Regions from separate parts of the Homo sapiens genome. Here all the other regions are linked to region 1. The links are contacts of gene promoters, found by promoter capture Hi-C in blood cells and fetal thymus (Javierre and others, 2016). All regions are on one chromosome and are shown on one strand. Each heading gives the region's core, a stretch centred on a gene start or on the middle of the fragment in contact. The rest is flanking DNA. Distances are from core to core; before and after follow the strand shown. Region 1 holds the start of MBNL2 (muscleblind like splicing regulator 2). Region 2 holds the start of FARP1-AS1 (FARP1 antisense RNA 1). Region 3 overlaps STK24 (serine/threonine kinase 24). Region 4 has its middle 3.0 kb from the start of UGGT2.

Region 1 (2,755 bases), core at 1-2,500:
TTATGTTTTTAAGATGCAATGGCAAAATAAAAAGAAAGCATTCCATTGCATTCTGTTGCTTCATTACAGATGCGCTGAACAGTTGCTTATAAAAATCGTGCATTGGGTTCAACCTTTCAGATGAATAAAGGCTTTGTTCTGTCTTGGTCTCATCATGTAATCATCATACTTTTTTTTTCTCAAAATGTGGTATTTAGGGGAGGAAAATGTATGCTTGTTGTGTTTGCTCAATGCCATATGTTTTTGAGTTTTTGTTTTCAAGGCATACAGAAATGCTGTAGACTGGGAAATAAATAAATAAATAAATAAATAAATAACCCTTCCTAAACTTTCTCTTCTTCTGCTTTATCTCAGGAAACTCCAGCACCTCCTAGAACATCTTTTGTGGAATGGCACCTCATGGGGGCCCTTGGATCATGTACCCCTTGTATTCAACAGTAAACATCTTCCTATAATCATTGCTTCATTAACGATAATGTGAGCCAATGCACAGTATTTATCAAATGGCATCTAAGATGGTTAAAGCACACCTAATCCTCTCGTGGGTGCCTGCCAAGAGTAGAAAAGGGTAGTGTATAGATATCAATTTTATTGTCCAGCATTCCCTAATCGAAGTCCCAAGTGGTCTGAAAACTTAGACGAAAGATAAATGGGCCGCAGTAATTAACCACTGCAATAACAGATGTTATACAGGAAACCTGTGTGTGCCAGAGCTATAAGCATGTTTTGATTTTGAATACGCACTTGGGCTAGCACATTCTTCCTCAATAATGGAAATATGTAAATGTTTTGTAAGGTATTAACTGCCATGGCAGACGTTGAATTATTTTTCCTTTAAAAAACATATACATATGCTTTGTCAGATAGTCCAAGGACTTCAGTTTCATGTACAACCTGGATTTCTTTGGAATCTGCGGAGTTTCACATTTTCCCAAGTGTTCACGGTGAAGCTCCTGGCTTCGAGCTGGCTGTCTTCAAGGGTGTTTTCTTGAGCTACCCCTCTCTCTGCTCTGCCAATTATGTGCCACTTTGTCTTGGTGCTATGATTGCTTTCTTCTGAGAGGGAAATTCCTCTTTCATCAGTATGGATGCACTGTTTTTACACACTGCAAGTGCTGTGTTACTGTGTCAGTCATCCTATTAGGGCCAGTTTCAGACGAGTAGGGCTGACGAGCTGGCTGGGGATTGGCTGGCCCCGGCTGGGAGGGATTTGTCGGAAGGAAGGGCTGCAGCTTACAGCAACAGAGTTTAGACTGTCTTTGCTTCATCATCTGAAGGTAAAATTTTCCAGATACGGCAGACGGCTTTCAGAGTACAATAAACAGGGAATGAGAACTATTTACATGGAAGTTTCTTTCTCATGATGCGGTGGAGAAGCCTCGGCCACTTGGTTCTGCCAGATGTTCCTGGGGTTACTGTAAATGGGAAGGACAGGCAGAGCTAAACAAGGTAGGAGAATCGCCCCCCTTTTTTGAATGTTTAAAGAGTTTGCTGCAGTATGCTGCATTCCATGTGTGCTGCTTACGGGAGCCAGGGAAACTGGATTCCACTAATTCAATTGTAATACTTGCGGGGGACCCTGGAGTTTTACGTAACATTTTGATTTGAGAAAAAGAAATGGCAAAGCTTGAATCTATGCCGCCTGTTTGGGGTGAGGCAAGAAATCGAGTTTTTATGCAAAGAATCGATTCATTTATTATATTATTTTTTAAAAACCATTTGAATTCTTTGGAGCAATCTTATTTTCTTGCTGTGAAAAATTGTTATATTGCCATAGCTAGTTCCCAAATAGATAAAGTTTACATGGATCCTATTATTTGAAAACAGACTTGCAATTAAGGATTAAAAAAAAATTCATGGTAAATAATCATCGGTTGAATGTTTGGCCAAACGTATGTGTCTATTTATTAAAAATTAGGGACCTACCTAGCTCTACAATGCTACAGCTTTAATTGAGTTTCAAAAGCACATTTTAAACAACCTAGCAAGAGGTAGCTTTCTGGCAAGTTTTCGATACTGTAGTTCAATGTTTACATTTCTTTTCCTGGCATGTCTGAGCCTTTGTTTCCAGCTTAAAAGTGGAACCATTATATTCAAAAGTAAAGCTGGGTTAATAATGCTTACTGCAATTATCTGATCTTTATGCATTTTTAATGAGAACACACAGCCAGCAGAATAATTTAATGAGGGCAGGCTAGCTTTTAAAGCTGTGTTTTCACTATGCCGAACCATATCAACTTTCTCGCTGAGAAGCAGCAGTGAGAAATGATGGAGAAGATTTATTTTTAACACACTTGGCCCAGGAGAAGGAAAGGATATATTTGCTAAAGAATTCTTTCTGCCCTTTTCCGTTTTAAATTTCTGCCAGGCATGAGGAAACTGTGCTTTTTTGTTAGGCCTCGGAAGCATGTGTTTACAATAAATGTGTAACATTTTTAGAATAGTTAGCAAGCACTGAAGCGAAGAAAAAAATCTGACTTGCCTAACCACCACCACCTTGAATGTTCTACAAGAAACATTACTGTCCCTTTAAAAGACAAAGGTTAAGTGGAAAGCTATTTGTTAATTGGGTAATGTGTGTGTTTTGGGGACAATAAGGTTTTTAAAAAAGGCAGGGGGAACATTCTTATAATCTTTAAATAAGAGGAAGTTTCTTCAGCTATCCTACTTGTTTTGCAAGGAGCAGTAGAACTACTCATTTAAATAAGGGCAATGCCACGTAGATTCTTCTAGACCCACTGTTTTTACTTTCAAG
Region 2 (2,700 bases), core at 108-2,607, 1.2 Mb after region 1:
TGAAAGAGGTATTTAGAGTTCTGAAGACTGAAGTTCAGTCAACAAGTATTTCTTGCTTTTCTTGACCAAACTACCCAAGTGCTCAGCCGCTGGGGACTTGAGTGCCACCCAAACTTGTCAGCCACTGGGGACTTGCGTGCCACCCAAGCTTGTATTAATCAGGCACTAGCTTCTTTTAAATATTGGATGCCCACCAGTATAGGGGAGCCGTGCCTCTATCGAAAAATAAAGGCCTGATGTGGTGGCTCATGCCTGTAATCCCAGCACTTTGGGCGGCCAAGGCGTGTGGATCGCCTGAGGTCAGGAGTTCGAGACCAGCCTAACCAACATGGTGAAACCTTGTCTCTACTGAAAATACAAAATTAGCCGGGCGTGGTGGCACGCACCTGTAATCCCAGCTACTCGGGAGGCTGAGGCAGGACAATCACTTGAACCTGGGGGCAGAGGTTGCAGTGAGCTGAGATTATGCCATTGTACTCCAGCCTGGGCAACAAGAGCAAAACTCTGTCTCAAACAAATAAAAGAAAAGAAAAAATTTGAATTCTACAGCAATTCTTCACAACCATCTTGGTAAACAGTGTAATTTCCACACAAGACAGAACTGGGGTGTGGTGGAATGTTAGTTACCTGGAATATACTGACACTTCACAATATCAATTACACCTCCTCCCAAGGAGGTGCTGACTTTGCTCCAGATTTTTCTATGGCCTCTTTGTGCTCACTGTGCCTTGTTCTTTCCGAGTAACAGGAGGGAAAAGAAAAGTCTCTACCCAGGGACAAAATTCAAGGCAGTCTTCTTCCCCCGTGTCTTTCCCCTCTAAGCCAACAGGTCCGTCTAATTGAAGGACAGCTGTATGCCACGTCACCATGCAGGGGTCACTTAGTTTTAAGATGCTAAAGTGAAGCAAATAAATACAGAAAATACACCATCAATTTTTATTATAGAGAAATAGCACTGTTTTTGCTCAAAAGACACCTTTGAATACTGTGCAGGGACTGGAGTGATTTCCCTGCAGCGTTGAGCTGACAGCTGCTAGGGGAAGACCCCTGCCTGCCTTTCCCGCTGCAGACTGTGTATGTCTTTCCTTCACAGCCGCTTTGGCAGAGATCACGGAGATGGTGGCACAGCTCCACGGTACGATGATCAAGATGGAGAATTTCCAGAAGCTGCACGAACTCAAGAAAGATTTGATTGGCATTGACAATCTTGTGGTTCCGGGAAGGGTAAGCAGCAGTGGCCTCACTATGCACTGCGCGGGGAGCAGAAAGGAGGCATCGGAGGGACTTACATTTGAACCTTTTGAAGAGAGACCCTTGCAAAGCAAAATGTCCTCTTTCCATCCACCTGGGAGACAACTGGAAAAACACAACAGTGTCGTTAGTTCAGAATCATTGTGTTCGGAGGAGATAAAGCAATCCTCTGACCTCATATTCTGCTTTTTCTCCTTACGGGGTGATTCGCTTCTTTACCTTTTCCCCTACCATATCCCACAGAAGATTTGAGATTGCTTATTTTATTTTTTTTAAATGTACATAAATGAAAATGGAAAATTAAAAAAAAAATTAGGTAAATAGTAATAAAGCCAGAAAGGTAGTGCATTAAATTATGCTAGAAATTCCCATGCAGGTATGAAGTGTTTTTTTAAAATTCAATCTTCCATATATAATTTAATTTGAGTTCAAAATTAAAATACCAAATCTTAGCTGGAAAGCAATTCCAGGAGAGATGCAAGTTCACTGACACTGTCGCCTACCCCTCCCCAGCCCCCTGCCTGAGATGCAGGTGATTCCTACTCAACAGGGCTTCCCGCACACACTCCTTCCAGGCCAGTGACAATGTGGAGGACAGGAACAAAGCCTGCCTTCTCCACTTCCCTTCCTAGAAAGCCATCATCACCCAGGAATCAAACGTATCATTCAGTTGCTGCGTCTCATCAAATCTCTCTCTGGGATCTTTACCCTGTGGCGCCCCCATTTCAAATGCTACGTCACCCAGGTCGAGAGACAACTCACTGTAGCTGCTTTGATCTGCTGCTGCAGGATCCAGTATCTCAGGGGCTTTTAGTCTTTTTCCAACAAGCAGCTGCCCTGGAAACTTGACATCTGTAACTCAGGGCAGGGGAAGGAAGCTCTCCTTGTTTTGGAGCATTTCTGTCAGGAAGCCTAATTACAGAACTGACCAGAAGCCACGTTGTGAGAGATTGTCAGAAGAGCCATGCGGTAAGCGCTGGCAGAAATTAGAGCTGGGATGGCCTCAGCTCTGCTGGTGACAAGATCCTGCCAGGCCTCGGCACTTAATGACCTTATTTACCCATCCACACGGAACCCTCAGAAAAGCCCTGTGGAATCGATGTAATTTTCTCTCAGCTTTGAAAGTTATAAAATATTTAGCATCTCATGCTACATGGTGAACAGACCACTGATAAAGAATTCCTTTTTTTGAGGAAATGTTTTCCACTGCAATGGAAAGAACCTTGGATTGGAGGAGGTGGCCCTGGGTTCAAAGTCTCGCTCTACCAGTGCCGGGGTGGCGGGGGACCATGCACATGGAGACCATGGCCTCTCCCTCATAGGTCATTAAGATCAAATGAGATTTGCTCTGTGAAAATGACATAATACATATTAATTATCTTCGTTTTCCCCCACCTACATTTAATTGAAGAGATGAAAGGTAGCCATAGAATAGTGGCATTAACTACA
Region 3 (2,700 bases), core at 2-2,501, 1.3 Mb after region 1:
CTCACCACACGCCTCCCGGGTCCACAAACCTGGAAAGTCAATTTCACATCAACATAAGAGTTTGCTCATGATTTCCAGTTCAGAGTTGGAACTGGAACTCTGAAGGGAGGACTTGCCCTTCAAGGAAGGTGGGTGCGGATGGCTCAGGCAGACAGGACAGCTCTCGAATAAAGGTTCTCATGTGAGCAGTGATGGTGCAACCAAGAGCGGAAGATCTTCACATGGCCCTGTCTCCTTTTTTCCACGGCACTTTGCATGATCTGAAACTGCTTATTTATTGTTTCTTCTACTTCAGGAGAGGAGGGAGTGTGCTGTCGTGATCACAGTTGTATTCACAGTGCAGTTGCTCAGTACAAATTTGTGAATGAATGGCACCAGCTTGATTTTCTTCCTTTGAAGGCACTTAATTTTTTAATAAGTTTGTAATACAACTTTTTTCCTCTGGAAAAGGTTCTGACATATGTAATCATCTCTATTCATTCATTTTGCTTGGTACCAGGCAACCTCTTTGACTTATGGGTTCACATCATTCTTGACCTTGGGTAAGTTTTAAATCTTTAAACATTCTTCTATTTATTCTGGAGTTTTCTTTCAAAACACCAATTAAAGCTGTGCACTGATGCTTTCAAAACTCTTTTAAACCTCTCTCAGCTTGCATCTCAACTAGAACGCCATCCTGCCAGGGCCCAACCCTGAAATGGCCGCACACTGAGGTGCCCATGCCTTCTGCCCCGCCACTCTCTAGGGATATTTGTCACCTAAGGCAGGTAACTCACTGAAAATGGTGACTACAACACAGCACGCTTGCTCCTAAAGTGCTGTTAATTCTTCCTGTTTACTGTCAGTCTCCCCCATATGAATTTAAGACATACAGGAGAAGAGACTTTTGTTCTTGTCTACTCCAGTATTACTGGAATCCAGAAAAATGTGCCTACACAGAATGGGTTAAATGAAAGAATCAATATGAAATAAATACAATAATGAAAGAGAGAGAAAGAGAGAAGGAAGGGGAGGAAGGAAAGGGGAAAGGAAGGAGGGAGAGAGGGAAATCTAAAATCAGAGTCCTCAGTCACATGGTAGATCAGCTAATTTACTACAAAGAATGAGAAGAGAATAATCGAGGTGGTGTCATCCAATGAGTTAAGAAACATGGGTTCTAGTCTCAGCCTTGCCAAAATCTACACAGATGAACTTTGATAAATGGGGTCAGCTTAAAATAAAGAGAATGGACTAAACATGTAAGTTCCTGGTCGAGTCCCAAAATTACATGACCCCAGGAAAAGGGTCAACAGCCAAAGTGACTGCAGATGAGAAGCAGCCAAGGCAGTGTCCCTCCCACGTGGGGTAGAGACACTCCCAGGCAAGGGCACACACCCAAGACCAGCCAGGTCTGCTGTGTGGGTATGTGGGGGGTGGGGGAACCCATCAGTCACTCACCAGCCAGAGGCTGTCAAGGCCATCATAGTGCTCAGAAAAGTCACAGCCACCGCTACCACTCAACAGTGAGACGGGCTCACTCCTCCCAAGGTGGAACCAGGTACGCCTGCAACTTGAGCTACAACCTGGACGCTTTCTAACAGTCTATAGCTTGCAACGGTGACCTGGGTCTGCAGGGAAAGTCACCTGGTGCTTCCTGTACTATGTTTAACAAGGTGGGAAGTTTACTGGGTACTGGGAAGATTTCTGTTTAAAAGCAGCAGCAAGGTTCGGCCTATATGCATATCTGAGTTAGGTATTTGTTTGCTCAGAAACTTGGAGCCCAGGAAAGCCAATTCTCCGTGGATCATGTGGCCTTTTAACTGTGTACAGGGTCCTAAGAAGAGCAGACTGTGCGAACTGAAGTTAAACCAGAGCCCTAGGAGGCAAAGTCCCGGGATTTTTTGTCCCATCTAACAGAGTTCACAAAAGTGGAGGGCAACAGAGAAAAAGAATATGAGAAAAATTAGGAGAGTGTCCCTAACACAGGACAAGTAAAAAACAGTGGGAAGAAAGGGTTAGGGTTTCATCACATGTTGACAAGGACAGGCTGGGAACGAGAATCCTCAGAACTAAAAATAATAGGAAGACCCTGCAGCAGTCACTCAAAGCACTGTTCTTCCTCCATTCTCACGCTTCCGTGGACTCCCTTTCTCTTGTGGGAGCCCCTTTCTCTACAGGCCCCTTCAAGGTTGCCGATTCCACGCACTTGCACTTCGACCCCCAGCTGTGCCCAGACAGCAGGTGGAGCCCCTCTGCAACCGCACACGCCTCCACCCCTCACCACCATGGCCCTTCAGTTCCTCCCACCCCCCTCCAAACCCGCTCCATCCTGTGTCCCCGCTGCCACCAAACAAACATAGCCTGAGTTAAAAACCTCGATCATGGTGGGCTGGATCAGCACAGGGTATTAAATGATACAGCAGGAGACAGAGGAGAAAACTGTTCATAACCAAGGTTGAAGAATTACCTTTATGACCTACCTCAAGGTACCAGCTTCGTTCCAACTTAGAAAAGCTACCAGGCTAAAGAACAAAAGGCGGGAGCCCTCCAGGCCTCGTGAGGCACGGCGCCGCCCTCACCCTCCCCTCACCTTCGAGTCATAGGCCGACTGTTTGATGACCTCGGGTGCCATCCAGAATGGGGTGCCCACGAAGGTGTTCCTTTTGATCTGGGTGTCTGTCAGCTGGCCAGCCACGCCAAAGTCCGCCAGCTTCACCTCGC
Region 4 (2,700 bases), core at 201-2,700, 1.2 Mb before region 1:
TTTCCAGAATAATTTCTCACTTCCAAAGTTTAGCCTTCATTTCCTGATTTATCCTACTTGGTATGATCTATCCTTACTTTAAATTTCCTCTTTATTGTAACTGCCATATAGCACTTAAGTTCTCACTTTAATACTTGAGTACGCTACTTACTTATTTCTCCTGTGAGAGATAGTATATTCCCCCAGAACTCATGCCTTGTTCATCTTTGGCATCCCGTGCAGTACCTAGCACAATACTTCACATTCACATGTTATTTGGGGACTCCATGAAGATTGAAGAACCCTTGCTTTATGGAAAGAATGTAGAAAGCTAAGGCAAATGCACTTCATTTCTATCCATAGTGTATACGAGAAAAATACATTACGAATCTTTCACAATTATTTGCTTTAATTAACTCCCCATTTCCACTCATATTTAGACCGAAATTTTTATTGAGATTGTGGGATTAAGGAAATAAAATATTGACAGTGAATGTCTTACATGTCAGCATATCCAATGGACTGCAAATCTTTAAGAAATAATTGGCCATATAAAAGGCACATTAAATAGACTATTAAAGGACACTAATAAAATGTATATTAGTAAAAATTTCACTATATGTGAGTTCAGAATAGTGAGAATGCTCATTTCTCTTTTAAAGAGAATAAAATTAATCTAATCTAGGCCATCTATGAATATATTTGTTATACATTTTATCTTACATGGTGTTCTCCTAGAAATTTTAATTTGAAACATTCCTCAGAATGATGATCCCCAAGCTTGTTTCCCCATCTACAGAGCAAAAGGATAAGACAATGTGATATTTAAGATTCCTTCTATATGTGATTCCTATGTGCAGATAAAAAAATACTAAAATGCAAAAATTGAGTAAATTAGCAAAGTCCACTCCAGTCAGTGGAGTAGCAAAGTATTTTAAAATCCACTATCAATAACCCTTTGGCACAGATTGGCTTTGAACTACGGACCTAACTCTACCTAAGTCTTTTTAGCAAAATACAATACAAAAGTTATTCACTGCAGGATAAAAGGAATAAAATTGATGAAGGTAGCAGTTTCTATCATATGTGGAAGAAGTGATTAATGAGTGCTTTATAATAAGAATCTTGTGTTTAACAGAATAAATCATCTTGAATTTAATGATATGTATTTAATGATAATAATGGCATGACATGAGTACAAAGTTACTGCCAAATTATTGCATTATATAATAAAATTTTAATTTTCTAAGCCTACATAAAATCCAGTGGGTGAACTCACTTTTAAAAGTATTATTCTGTAGGTTTTCCAGATTTCCCTTATAAGAAAGACCCTATTCTCCTATTCTCGTTTTATTATTAAAAGATCTTTTGTCCTGGCGTGGTGGCTCATGCTTGTAATCCCAGCACTTTGGGAGGCCGAGGCAGGTGGATCGCGTGTGGTCAGGAGTTTGAGACCAGCCTGGCCAACATTGTGAAACCTCATCTCTACTAAAAACACGAAAATTAGCGGGGTGTGATGACAGGTGCCTGTAGTCTCAGCTACTCAGGAGGCTGAGGCAGGAGAATCACTTGAGCCCAGGATGCAGAGGTCGCAGTGAGCCGAGATTGCACCACTGCACTCCAGCCTGGGCAACAGATGGGACTCCATCTCAAAAATAAATAAATTAAATTAAAGATCTTTTTCTTTTTCTTTTCCTTTTTTTCTTTTTTGATATAGATTCTCTCTCTGTCACCCAGGGTGGAGTTGTTTTTTTTGTTTTTTTGTTTTTTTGTTTTTTTTTTTTTGATATAGAGTCTCTGTCGCCCAGGTTGGAGTGCAGTGGTTCTCTTGAGTAGCTGGGACCACAGGCACATGCCGCCATGCCTGGCTAATTTTTTGTATTTTCTGTAGATGTGGAGTTTCACCATGTTGCTCAGGTTGGTCTTGAACACCTGGGCTCAAACGATCTGTGCACCCCTGCCTTTCAAAGCGTCGGGATTACAGACATGAGCCACCGTGCCTGGATATTATTTAAATATCTTAAATACACAAAAGTTTTCTACTCATTCCAGTTGGGAAAAATTTAGAGACTTATGTAATTTGTTACATCACTATTCCCTAGACAAGATTATACCAAAATCATAATCAAACGAGTATGGTTTAGGTTTTTTATGTTTAGTTTTAAGCTTAACTCTTTATAGCTTTTTTTAAAATTTAAGGGTCTGCAAGTTTGATATTTACAGGTTTACATATTTTATTTAAGATAGATAATAAATGCCTCACAAATGTCTAATCCCAGTATGTTTGATGAATTTTTTTAGTGGAGCTTTTTACTACAGTGGCTTTCAAATAGCAAATAAAGGATGTGAAATATATAATTTTTAAATTAATCATTTTGGATGATGTAAGAACTTGAGATTTGCTATTTAACAACAACCATCTATACTTATATGGTTAAATCGAAGTATTTTTAATGGTGGTAAAATACACATAAAATTTACCATTTTAACCATTTTTAAGTGTACAGCTCAATAGTGTGAAGTATATTCACATTGTTGTGCAACCAGTCTCCAGAACTTTTTCATTTTGCAAAACTGAAACTCTGCACCCACTAAACAAAAATGCTCTATTCTCTCTCCAGCCCCTGGCAACTACCATTCTACTTTCAATTTTTATGAATTTGACTACTCTAGATACTCATACAAGGAGAATCATACAGTATTTGTCCTTTTGTGGCCATC

Evidence for each region. Contacts are between HindIII fragments. The CHiCAGO score rates a contact against its expected background, and 5 or more counts as called.
Region 2: a contact is called between the fragment with the promoter of FARP1-AS1 here and the fragment with the promoter of MBNL2 in region 1, in 1 of 17 cell types (M0 macrophages). The highest score is 5.3, in M0 macrophages.
Region 3: a fragment that was not itself captured here is called in contact with the fragment with the promoter of MBNL2 in region 1 in 1 of 17 cell types (non-activated CD4 T cells); the score reaches 5.4 in non-activated CD4 T cells.
Region 4: a contact is called between a fragment that was not itself captured here and the fragment with the promoter of MBNL2 in region 1, in 1 of 17 cell types (monocytes). The highest score is 6.8, in monocytes.

The regions. Positions count from the first base shown.
Region 1 is chr13:97,221,083-97,223,837 of GRCh38, forward strand. It overlaps MBNL2 (muscleblind like splicing regulator 2), which reads left to right and starts at 1,251. Exons shown (of 9, transcript NM_001382683.1): 1 at 1,251-1,449. RefSeq lists an enhancer at 1,273-1,332. The HindIII fragment of the contact is 4,024 bases long and covers 1-1,624 here.
Region 2 is chr13:98,434,483-98,437,182 of GRCh38, forward strand. It overlaps FARP1-AS1 (FARP1 antisense RNA 1), which reads right to left and starts at 1,358. Exons shown (of 2, transcript NR_046595.1): 1 at 1,290-1,358; 2 at 923-1,176. It overlaps FARP1 (FERM, ARH/RhoGEF and pleckstrin domain protein 1), which reads left to right. Exons shown (of 27, transcript NM_005766.4): 19 at 1,094-1,224. The HindIII fragment of the contact is 3,650 bases long and covers 147-2,700 here.
Region 3 is chr13:98,472,252-98,474,951 of GRCh38, forward strand. It overlaps STK24 (serine/threonine kinase 24), which reads right to left. Exons shown (of 11, transcript NM_001032296.4): 5 at 2,570-2,700. Among named protein-coding and RNA genes, the nearest start is that of FARP1-AS1, 38 kb to the left of the region's middle. The HindIII fragment of the contact is 5,160 bases long and covers 1-2,700 here.
Region 4 is chr13:96,055,034-96,057,733 of GRCh38, forward strand. No RefSeq gene overlaps it. Among named protein-coding and RNA genes, the nearest start is that of UGGT2, 3.0 kb to the left of the region's middle. The HindIII fragment of the contact is 1,386 bases long and covers 758-2,143 here.